Linked DNA regions of Homo sapiens: region 2 is linked to region 1. The links are contacts of gene promoters, found by promoter capture Hi-C in human tissues and cell types (Jung and others, 2019). All regions are on one chromosome and are shown on one strand. Each heading gives the region's core, a stretch centred on a gene start or on the middle of the fragment in contact. The rest is flanking DNA. Distances are from core to core; before and after follow the strand shown. Region 1 overlaps UBA2 (ubiquitin like modifier activating enzyme 2). Region 2 holds the start of ZNF181 (zinc finger protein 181).

What was found. The method cuts DNA at HindIII sites, captures the fragments that hold promoters and counts their contacts. A contact is called where the count stands out against the background at its distance.
Region 2: the fragment with the promoter of ZNF181 here is called in contact with a fragment that was not itself captured in region 1 in 5 of the 25 tissues and cell types used here (heart left ventricle, liver, lymphoblastoid cells and 2 more).

What each region holds. Positions count from the first base shown.
Region 1 is chr19:34,469,362-34,474,808 of GRCh38, forward strand. UBA2 (ubiquitin like modifier activating enzyme 2) reads left to right here. Exons shown (of 17, transcript NM_005499.3): 17 at 1-1,890. Among named protein-coding and RNA genes, the nearest start is that of WTIP, 9.7 kb to the right of the region's middle. The HindIII fragment of the contact is 6,218 bases long and covers 1-4,359 here.
Region 2 is chr19:34,731,659-34,737,204 of GRCh38, forward strand. It overlaps ZNF181 (zinc finger protein 181), which reads left to right and starts at 2,585. Exons shown (of 4, transcript NM_001029997.4): 1 at 2,585-3,388. The coding sequence starts at 3,380. RefSeq lists enhancers at 1,433-1,492, 1,710-2,227, 1,948-2,337 and silencers at 2,618-2,667, 2,768-2,827. The HindIII fragment of the contact is 5,149 bases long and covers 1-4,377 here.

The DNA of each region.
Region 1 (5,447 bases), core at 1-2,500:
TGCTAGAACTGTTAGACACATTGCAGTATGCTGTATTGAAAGTAGGAATATAGTTTTAAAAACCCTTTGAACAAAGTGTGTGCATAACCAGTCATGAGATAAAACAACACAATGCATGTTGCCTTTTTAATGTAAATACCCGTAGGTATCATTAATAGTTTCAAAATATTGTGGTTTAGTAAAGTTGATACCTGGTTATAAATATTATGCCTTTATTTTTGGCTAGAAGAAGAATTATTTTTAGCCTAGATCTAACCATTTTCATACTCTTAACTGATTGAAACAGATTCAAAGAAGTATCGAGTGCTATGCATTGAAACTTGTTTTTAAATGTTAGATGGCACTATGTATATTAATGTAAAACAATGTTAATTTACTCAAGTTTTCAGTTTGTACCGCCTGGTATGTCTGTGTAAGAAGCCAATTTTTGTGTATTGTTACAGTTTCAGGTTATTTATATTCGATGTTTTGTAAAACTCAAATAACGACTATACTTATGGACCAAATAAATGGCATCTGCATTCTTGTTACACATGCCTGCACAGTTCCTGTTTCTGCTGCCTTATATCTACTGCAGGAATGTCAAATTCTTTTCATTAAAAAAAGAACTCGGTCGGGCACGGTGGCTCATGCCTGTAATCCCAGCACTTTGGAAGGCTGAGGCAGGTGGATCACCTGAGGTCAGTAGTTCAAGACCAACCTGGTCAACATGGTGAAACCCCATCTCTACTAAAAAAAAAAAAAAAAATTAGCCGGGCCTGGTGGCAGGCACCTGTAATTCCAGCTACTCAGGAGGCTAAGGCAGCAGAATTGCTTGAACCCGGGAGGCAGAGGTTGCAGTGAGCCAAGATTGTGCTATTGCTACTCCAGCCAGGGCGATGAGTGAAACTCCATCTCAAAAAAGGTTCAGAAGATCTCCACTGTTTGCCAAAGACGAGTACTTTCTTTTCTTTATTCTTGGAGACTTCACATGTAGGAAGAGTACTTTCTAAAATAAAGCTCTTCCTGCGTGTGGTGGTGGTGCACATCTGTGTTCCAGCTACTCAGGAGGCTGAGGCAGGAGGATGGCTGGAGCCCAGAAGTTCAAGGCCAGCCTGGGTAACATAGCAAGACCCTGTCTCTAAAAAATAAGTAAATAAAATAAAGCTTTTAATGGCAGTGGGTTTTTTGTTCGTTTTTGAGATGAAGCCTCACACTGTCATCTGGCCTGGAGTGCAGTGGCGCGATCCTGGCTCACTGCAGCCTCCGCCTTCCAGGTGCAAGCGATTCTCCTGTCTCAGCCTCCCCTGTAGCTGGGATTACAGGCGCCCTCCACCACGCTCAGCTAATTTTTTGTATTTTTAGTAGAGATGGGGTTTCACTATGTTGGCCAGGCTGGTCTGGAACTCCTGACCTCGTGATCCACCTGCCTCAGCCTCCCAAAGTGCTGGGATTACAGGCGTGAGCCACTGCGCCTGGCCTAATGGCAGTGTTTTTAAAATTTGGATTGTCAGCAGTTGGCCTTTGTTGAGAAAATGTGTGACTTTGCCCAAGCCCAGTAACTTGGAGCCTTGAATTTGAGATGCTGGAAAGGGAGTCCTTCCTCCTTTCTGCAGTGTTTGTCTGGGTTGTCCCCTAGTTTACCAAAGTCCATTTTGAATGTACCATCCCCAGCCCAACTCCAGCCTACAGATAGTGCCAGACCGCCAGTAGGTGGAGTAGCACTGTCTTCCTGGTCCCGGACCTCAGAGGGCTTTGCCTGTTAGGGTACTCTTATCACTCAGAGATGGGCCTTGAGTTTTCAGAGAACAGAAAGCCATTAAGCTGTTTCCCCTATTGTATTCATGTGCCCTTTGTGTTTCTGGCAATAATTTATTTTATATTTCAACTAAATTTTAAATTTCTAATTCATGTATTGTTCCTTGTGTAATTTGTACTGTACCATTCAGCTTATTAACCATTACTCCTTGTTTTCCACCATTTGTAAATTCAGCATGTAATCAGAGCTTTCAGAAAAACCATGTAGAAGACTGGGTGTGGTGGCTCACACCCATAAGCCTTGCACTTTGAGAGGCTGAGGCAGGAGGATCGTTTGAGCCCAGGAGTTTGAGACCAGCCTGAGCAACATGGCAAAACCCCATCTCTACAAAAAATACAAAAAGTAGCTGAGCCTGGTGGCACTTGCCTGTAGCCCCAGCTATTCGGGAGGCTGATGGAGGAGGATCGCTTGAGCCTGGGAGGCGGGGTGTGCAGTGAGCCAAGATTGTACCACTGTACTTCAGACTGGGTGACAGAATGAGACCCTGTCTCTGAAAAGAAAAAAAAAGTCATGTTGACTAAGACTCAGCCTTCTGGAGCCCCAGAGTGGAGTGACTTTCACCTGTGAGCTTCATCTGCCTTTAGGTTTTTAGAAGGTGTTTAATTTTCCTCCAGAAAATAATTTGAAACTTAACTATGTAATATAAAATGAAATATCTTAGGATGCCGTCTCACTCTTCAAACTTTTTATTCTGAAAAGCTCTCTAGAAATTTGATTTTGAAATTCTGTCCATTCTTACACATCATCCTGCCTGCCTTTATTTTTGCAGTGGTGCCGTCATAGGTCACTGCAGCCTTGACCTCCTGGCTTCAAGCAATTCTCCCTCCCCAGCCTCCTAAGTCCCTGGAACTACAGGAGCTCACCACCATGCCCAGCTAATTTTTAAAACTTCTTTTGTGGAGACGGTCTCACGTTGCCCAGGCTTGTCTCCAACTCCTGGCCTCAAGCGATCCTCCCACCTTGGCCTTGCCAAGTACTGGGATTATAGGCCCTGAGCCGCGTGCCCTGTCCTCACCCTGCTTTGTAGACACAGTTAACAATGTGTTCCCGATATTTTGTGTATGTTCTTTTGTTCTTTCCTATTTGAATGTATAGTGCATGATGATAAGTGCCAGTTAGGTCTGCGGAGTTGTTTCTAATTTGGCAGACCAGTGTTTTTCATCTTTGCATTAACTATTACTACCTTTTTCAGCAGGTTTGTTAGGAAGGCAGGTCTGACTACTAGTTGCAGGGATCCTGTACAACTAGACAGTGTACCAAAGCAAATCCAAGCTTTCCCTAGGTGCCTAGAGGGTGGAGACACTTCAGATCTTGTGTTGTATTCATGGTTTTTCCATGTAAATTGTCTCACCAGCTGGGAGCTGGGAGTAGGGCTTGCAAAGGGAGTTTCCTCAACAGCTTCTTTCCACCTCCAGCCTGAAATATGGTGTTGACAAACTGTCTTCCAGCCTCACTTGGAACAGTGTGGTGACAAGTTTACCTAGAGAATCCATTGTCCTGAAGACTACTGGCTGCTCAGCATGTGCCATGAGAGGTTCCAACATTTTAACCCATTAATGAGATAACTGACCAGGCAAAGATCACTGGATGCCAAAACCTTTCAGGTAAAAGGCTGCTGAGGAACAGAATTTTAGCACAACACTCAAATGTTGCTGCACAGGTCACTTGCAAAAGGAAAACATCAATCTTTACTTATTTTAGAGAGGGGCGTCTCGCTTTGTCCCCCAGGCCGGAGTGCAGTGATGTGATCACAGCTCACTGCAGCCTCGACTTCTCAGGCTCAAGTGATCTTCCCACCTCAGCACCCCTGAGTAGCTGGGACTGCAGATGTGAGCCACCACGCCTAATTTGGAAAACACCAATCTTCACAATTGACAGATCTGACTGCCGCCACCATAATCAAGTGATCAAACCTAGTGTCACTTATGGGACGGCCTGATGTTTCTGTGCTTCCTAAGATGATACCAAGAACACAGCAGTATCTCACCAAGAAATTGTTGACTGGAATCTAACCAAGCATCTAGACCTCCAGCTGACAGGAAATGGAGAGGGGGTAGAGGCACAAGTTAACATTTAGAAACAATCAGGTGAGCAGAATATCTGTGATATTCCGTAACTGCCAGGGCTCTTCAGTAAGTGTCATTTCAAAAAAGGAAGGAGTAGGCATTCTGGGGTTAAAAGACATTTAAGAGACAACCCAATACAATGTATGAATAATTTTTTTTGCATCCTAGTTCAACAAAAATGACTATAACAATTCTTGTAACAATTGGAAATTTGAAAATGAAACGAATATAGGTAATATAGAATTGTTTTCTTCAGTACGATAATGTGATTGTAATTATGTTCTTTTTAGTGTATTATGGGCAAATCTTCAATACCAGCAACTTTTTTTTTTTTTGAGACGTACTTGCTCTGGTGCCCAGGCTGGAGTAAAGTGGTATAATCATAGCTCATTGCAGCCTCAAACTCCTGGGCTCGAGCGATCCTCCTCCCTCAGCCTCCCACGTAGCTGGGACTGCAGGTGTTACGCCACCACGCCTGGCTAATTTTTTCAATTTTTTGTAGAAGGGGTTTTGCTCTGTTGCCCAGGCTGGTCTGAAAGTCCTGGGCTAAAGCGATCTTCCCTCCTTGGCCTCCCCCAAAGTGCTGGGATTACAGTTGTGAGCCACTGCACCTTTCTCAGGCTATATGGGGAGGAAAACAGCAAAATTAACATTTATTGAACCTAGGTACTGTGTGTGTTTCATTGTACCATTCAGCTTTGAAAACTTTCATAATAGAAGTGAATATATGTATATATATGCACACACGCACAAATGCATATATACATACACAGGCAGTCTATTTTCCTTTTGTGCCTATTTGACTTTTCCAAGTTTTATATTGAGTATGTCCTATGATTAAAGTCAGAAAGGCAATAAAGGTTATTAAACATATAAGGTGGAAAGAGAAAGTGTTAGTGGGATTCTGGGCTCAACACTGTTGAAGTCAGCTTTACCCATCCTTCTTGTTGCTAGGCTGTGACTTAGGAAGGATTCTCTTTCATTTGAGCCTCCAGAGAACTAAGCCAGGTGGTTCCCACTAGATGAATGGCCCACTCAGAGGCTGCCAGACAGCATTTAGTTGATAATAGATGTTCCTGAAAATTGTCCATCAGTGGCATACATGTCTGACGTGGACTTGGCCTACACCCAAGGAACATGGCCAAATGTAAGCCACTTACCAGCCTTTTGTAATATACAAAAACCAAAAATGTGGGCCAGGTGAGGTGGCCCATGCCTGTAATCCCAGCACTTTGGGAGGCTGAGGCAGATAGATCGCTTGAGGCCAGGAGTTCGAGACCAGTCTGGCCAACATGATGAAACCCCATCTCTACTAAAAAAATAGAAAAATTAGCTGGGTGTGGTGGTGCACACCTGTAATCCCAGCTACTTGGGAGGCTGAGGCATGTGAGTTGCTTGAACCCGGGAGGCAGAGGTTGCAGTCAGCTGAGATGGTGTCATTGTGCTCCAGCCTGGGTGACAGAGTGAGACTGTCTCAAAAAAAAATAAATACATGAATAAATAAATAAAATAAAAATGTGAAAAGTAAAGAAAACCCAAAAAGATCAGAGAAGAAAAAATGTCAGCAGATGTTTCTAGTCATT
Region 2 (5,546 bases), core at 1,335-3,834, 260 kb after region 1:
TCTGCTGTGCCAGGTTGTGTTGTGTTGAGTTGTGCTGTGTCATGTGCTGTGTCACTGTTCCTGCAGACTCCCTGTCCGGGAGCTCTAGGGCCCTGACCTCTAAGAAGCCCCAGCCCCGAGCCAGCCTCAGGCAAGGTCTGCATCCCTGCTGCCTCCGCTTCCCTGGCTCAGCCTTGAAGCTCCCGCTGACCCCTCTGCCACTCACCAACCACCCATCACCCCCTACTTAGAGGCCAGGAAGCAGCAGGGGTCGTTTCCCCCTTCTCTTCACCCTTTCTCTCTTCCCTCCATTCTCCAGGACATACAACTCCAACAGAAACCAGAAATCCTGCAAATGCCCTGACCCACCCACCAACCCCAGGGCACCTCCTGCCCAGGTATTTGGCACAGGGGATGCCCTCACACCGACCCCATCATGTGCCCTCGTGGCCCCGAGGCTGTAGCATGGGATGCCTGTCTGGCCCTGGACCTGCCCTGGGCCCTGCCCTCTGCCACCGCTCACAGGACAAACCCAAACAATTGCTGTCCTCCCTCTGAAATGGTGGTCATGGGGGTGCAGGGAAGGCCTCACGTCCCTCCTGTGCCCAGGCCCCTCACCCCAACACTCTGGCTGGCTGCATCTGCTGCCCAGAGCCCTTGGTCACCAGGCGTGCAGCCTGGACCACGCTGATGGCAAGGGAGGCCCTTCCTAAGCCTAGAGGTGGTCTAAACCTTCATGGAACTGCTGGTCACAGTGCCAGCCAGAGTCCCAGGTGACGCTGAGATAGCTCAAAGTGGTGCATGGGAGATGTCTGATATCAACCCTCTCCTGGAGGTAGATGATGTCTCCAGCCTGGTGACTTCCCTGGCCTCCAGCCACCACCACCCCCAGTGTCCCCAAGGCTGAAGGTGCAAGCTTGCCCTGGCCCTGGTCCTGGCATAGAAAGTGCACGATCTGGTCATGTCATGCAGGTGAGGATACTTGTGTGCCAGGTAACCTCAGGCAGGCATGGTGGCGCTTGTGGGGCAATCCTGTAACCTGCAGTGTGGTGGGTGGGATGGGTGTGTGTGACACAGGCAGGAACTACTCCTGATGGCAGCTGACGACCCACATGTGTACTGGGTGGGTGCCAATGGGAGTAGCAGGTGAGTGGCTGAGCACAGGCAGGTGAATGAGTGACAGCTACACAAACCCCACCACTGAGCACGTCCCTCCCAGGGCAAAGCAGATCAGATCACAGGCCCAGCCCTGGGAGGCCCAGAGGAGCCTCAGGTCCTCAGGAAGGCTCCTGGCCCTCTTCGCCCTAGGAGGACCCCCCCCCCGCCCCAAGCCGGCTCCACCTGTAGCTGTGGGCGTGGGAGGGAGACAGAGCGCTCTGGCGGCCAGAGAAGGAAGGAAGATGGAGGGAGGGCGGACTTCTGCTCCCTGACGCTGCTGCTAGGCCCCCTGCGGCCCTCCTGGAGCCCACACCTTTCAGCTGCAGTCTCCCAGCCTTCGTCCCCAGGACGAAGCCCACTAAGCCAGTGCTTTTCCACTGCAGCTGGCTGTTCCGCTTGGGGAGGGTTCCCAGATTGTGCAAAGTGAGGAAGGGTCCCCTGTCCCTGCCCCGCAGGGCCCCCACTCCAGGCCTCCCCCATCTCTCCCTGTCTCTCTCAGAGGTAGAGGCAGCATTAAATTAAAATTTAATTAAAATATTAAAAATAAAGTAAAAAATTCAAATATACAACAGTAGACTGTCTGGCTTGCATACAAAGAAGGCCATTGCCCCTTTGGGTGAGCCGGGCAAGGTCAGGGTCTAAGAAGCGCCTCTGGTGAGAAGCGGTTGTCAGGCTCTGATGGCTGCGGGAGGAGTGACTCCTCCCAGGATGAGGGTCTGTGTCCTCTCAGTGCTCACTCAAGTTCCGTATTTCCAAGTCCTTCCAGGGGGCGTAACGCACGTGAGAACTGCCATTTCTGTCACAGATACGTGGCCGCATGCATTTCCAGGAAATGTCCTTGGTTCGCGAACTACAGCTGGCACAATCCAGCCCAGGGCGTTCTGTGAGCTGTAGTCTCCAGCAAGTGAATTCCAAAAAAACCTCAAAGACCTCAAAGACCATACAGGGTGGACAGCGTAGTAGCAGGGTTTGGGAAGAGAGGAGCTCTTTTGCTAGCAAAGGCGAGAGCTCGCCTGGTACAAGGTCTGCCCACGTCCCGGGAGATAAACATTAGTGTGAGCGCACGCTAGACCCAGAAGAGTTTGCCACGGCCGCACGGTTTTCTGGGAAGTGTAGTTTCTTGGTCCCGGCGCCATTGTCCTTAAAAGTAGAGGGTGGCCCTTGGTTCCGAGGTGTATCTTTCACCTCATCAGTATGACTATATGCCCCAGGACACTTCCCGCATGGTCCTAACTGCCGGGCTCTGGGACGACAGCCCCAGGCGGTTTAGTTTTTTAGGAAACCGAGATCTGTTTGCCCGCGGCGCCCCAGGTCCGCGCGGCCGCAGAGACTCCTGGGAAGTGTGGTCTTCCGGTACCTGCGGTTCGTTGCGCCTGGAATTTTGTCCCCTGCGCGGATGATTCTGGGAAATGTCGATCGGCTGTGGGCGGCGCACTGGGTCCGCCCCGCTGTAGCCTCAGGCCTGACGGCGACTCCCAGGCTCCGGGACGATTCTGGGCAGTGTCGTCCCCAGAGGTCGGCGGCCGTTGCCCGCTCACCAGCGACGCGGGGCGCCTGCGGGGACGGTGAGGCCCTGCTGAGGACTCCGGCCAGTATGAGTCCCGGGGGCGGCGGCGGGGCTCAGGCCCTGGGTCTGCCCCGCGGTGTGACCCCGGCCGGTGCCTTGGTTTTCCTGGCCTTCATGTCCTCCTATGTAAACGCGGGGTGATGACGGCGCCGACCTCTTGGCGCTGTTGTGAGAGTGAAGTGGGCGCGTGGTTAGACGCCAGCCACAGTTGTCTTTGGGTTATGTCGTCATGAAGCCGGCGCTCTACAGTTGTGTAACCTTGAACAAATGGGTTCAGTATCTTGGAATTTCAGTTTTGTCATCGTTTAAAAAATAGATCTGGAAAAATGTGAACGCACACCGTGCATAGTGGTGAAGACTGAACGAGCTGATAAAGTTTTTACCATTGTTTTATGAGGATTTTATTTACAGAGTAATTGATTTTCCTCGCAGGTGGCACCTGGTAAATGGTTAGCCCTTGCGGAGAAACACCCTGTTAGTTCCCAGGGAGAGATTGGCGCCCTGGAGAGTGATTACCAGTGTGCCTTTCCATTATGGTGTGTCACAGGTGCCGCAAGATAAGCCTGATTTTTCATGACTGCTTTTTCCTGCCCTTCTGTGCCCTCAGGACACTGCCCATCTCTAAGATAAGAGCCTGGAAAGAGGACTCTGTTGGCTGTTGGAAATTGCAGAGTAATGCCTCAGGTAGGTCGGTGTGTCCGCAAATCTTCCTGAAACACTTTATCAGGACTGTGTGTTTGCTTTGCTTCTCCTGCCTGTTCCCACCTAACCAAGTCCATTTAAGGGACTGGATCCATGGTTCCTTTCAGTATAGGAAGGACGGAGCCCACAGGAGAGCTCCAAGGTATTATCCTCCTCACCCAGTGTTCCTCTTTTCTACAGTTTTCTGCTAGAAGACTTTCTAGTCTTGCCAACATTTTAAAACTGTAATTCACAATGCAACTTTGGAATGTAAGGTTATTCGGTTTATGGTTGTCAAAACTGTACCATGTGGTCTCAAGTGAAGAGATGCTTGCAGTCATCCTTGATTCTTCCCTTTGACTTATACCTATATTCAGATCCTCTAGTTGGAGCTAAGCTATACACTGTATACAGAATCTGACCATTAGTTACCCCAGCACTACCACCACCACTACCACCCCGGTAGTGATAGCAATAAAGCCACCTGGATTATTGCGGTAGCCTCCTAGCTGGATTCCCTGCATCTGCCCTTAACCCTCATCAGTCTGTTCTCAGTACAGCTGTGACCGTGGTCCTATTGTTACATAAATTCCTGTCATTCCTCAACCTATAATTTTTCAGTGGCTCTAACTGAGTCACTTCTGCAATGACCTATTTGTACAATTAGGCCATTACCTTTCTGATCCCACCTTCCTTCTCTGCCTCCTCATTCCTGTGAGCTCTAGCCACTGTCACTAGTTGCTGTGCCATCGACGTGGAATATTCTTCCCCCACATACGCACAAACTTGCATCCTTATCTTCTTCGTGTGTTTGTTCCGTGGTTACTTTCTCAGAAAAGCTTCCCTGAATGGCTATTTGCAATCGCAGTCACCTTCCCTCGCCTAGCACTTCCACTCCTCCATCACTGCTTTGTTGTTTTCCACAGTGTGTGTCACTCACTAGCTGATGTACTGTATGTTCAGTATATGCACATGCTCATTGTCTGTTCCTGGTGGGAGGAATCTTTTTTCTTTTTTGTTGTCTGTTATAGCTTCAGTACCCAGAGGGTTACCTGGCACCAAATAGATGCTTAGTAAGTAATTGTGGAGTGAATAAGATGAGTAATGACGAACTGGTGGGGCAGAATCATGGCATGGAAGGTGAAGCTTGCATAGGAGGGGATGTGAGTAGCAGATGTACATGTTGGGTGAAGTCTGTTTTCTTGGAGAAGTTAGATAATTAGAATTGAAAAACTGGTGTGGTGGTACATGCCTGTTTTTCCAGCTATTCGGGAGGGTGATGAGTTGAGAAAATTTCTTGAACCCTGTGGTGTGCGGCTGCAGTGAGCTATGATTATGTCACTGCACTCCAGCCTGGCGGCAGAGCAAGAAAAAAGTAACAGCTAAAGTGAACTAATGCCAAAATCATTCATTGGTTCATCTTCTAAACACTTAGGAAGTATCTGTTAGGAAAAGTTGTACATGGATTTTGGTGTACACTGACACACAGGACTTCATGATCTAGTGCAGTATTGTCTAAGAGAACTTTCTGCAGTGGTGGAAGTGCTCTGCATGTGTACTGGTCAGTACAGTAGCCACCAGCCCTGTATGACTATTGAGTACTTGAACTGTGGCTTAAGCAACTGAGAAACTGAATTTTAAACTTTACTTATTTTATTTTTACATTTTAATTAATTTAAATGTATGTAGCCAAATTGCCTAGTGGCTACTGTATTGAGGATTGCAGCACTGGTAGAAAAGTAAGAAAGCATAAGAAATTAAAATAAATGCCAGGACAGATAGGCTATGTTCTTTTGGGGACAGAGATGAGTGAACACCCCAGGCTGCCCAGACAACTGAAGGGGAAGAAGGAAGCATCCCTGGCTCTAACTTGTAATAACCTGTTCATCATAAAGCTATGAGAAATGTTTTTTTGATTTGGGATAAAGGGAATTAACTAACACAGTGGCAACTCCAATTAACAGGTGAATTTAGGATAAATTATGTGTAGCAAATTGAACTGTAAGGTCTTACTTGATTATTTGGAAAATGTATGTATTGGATTGTATCTGCTTGGCTATAAAAAAGAGATTTCTTCCTGTCCTTTTAATCTCATTAGTGGATTGCCTGTGAAGTGCATCACAGTTGATTTAGTGATTATTAAGTAATAAAACTGTGTTCT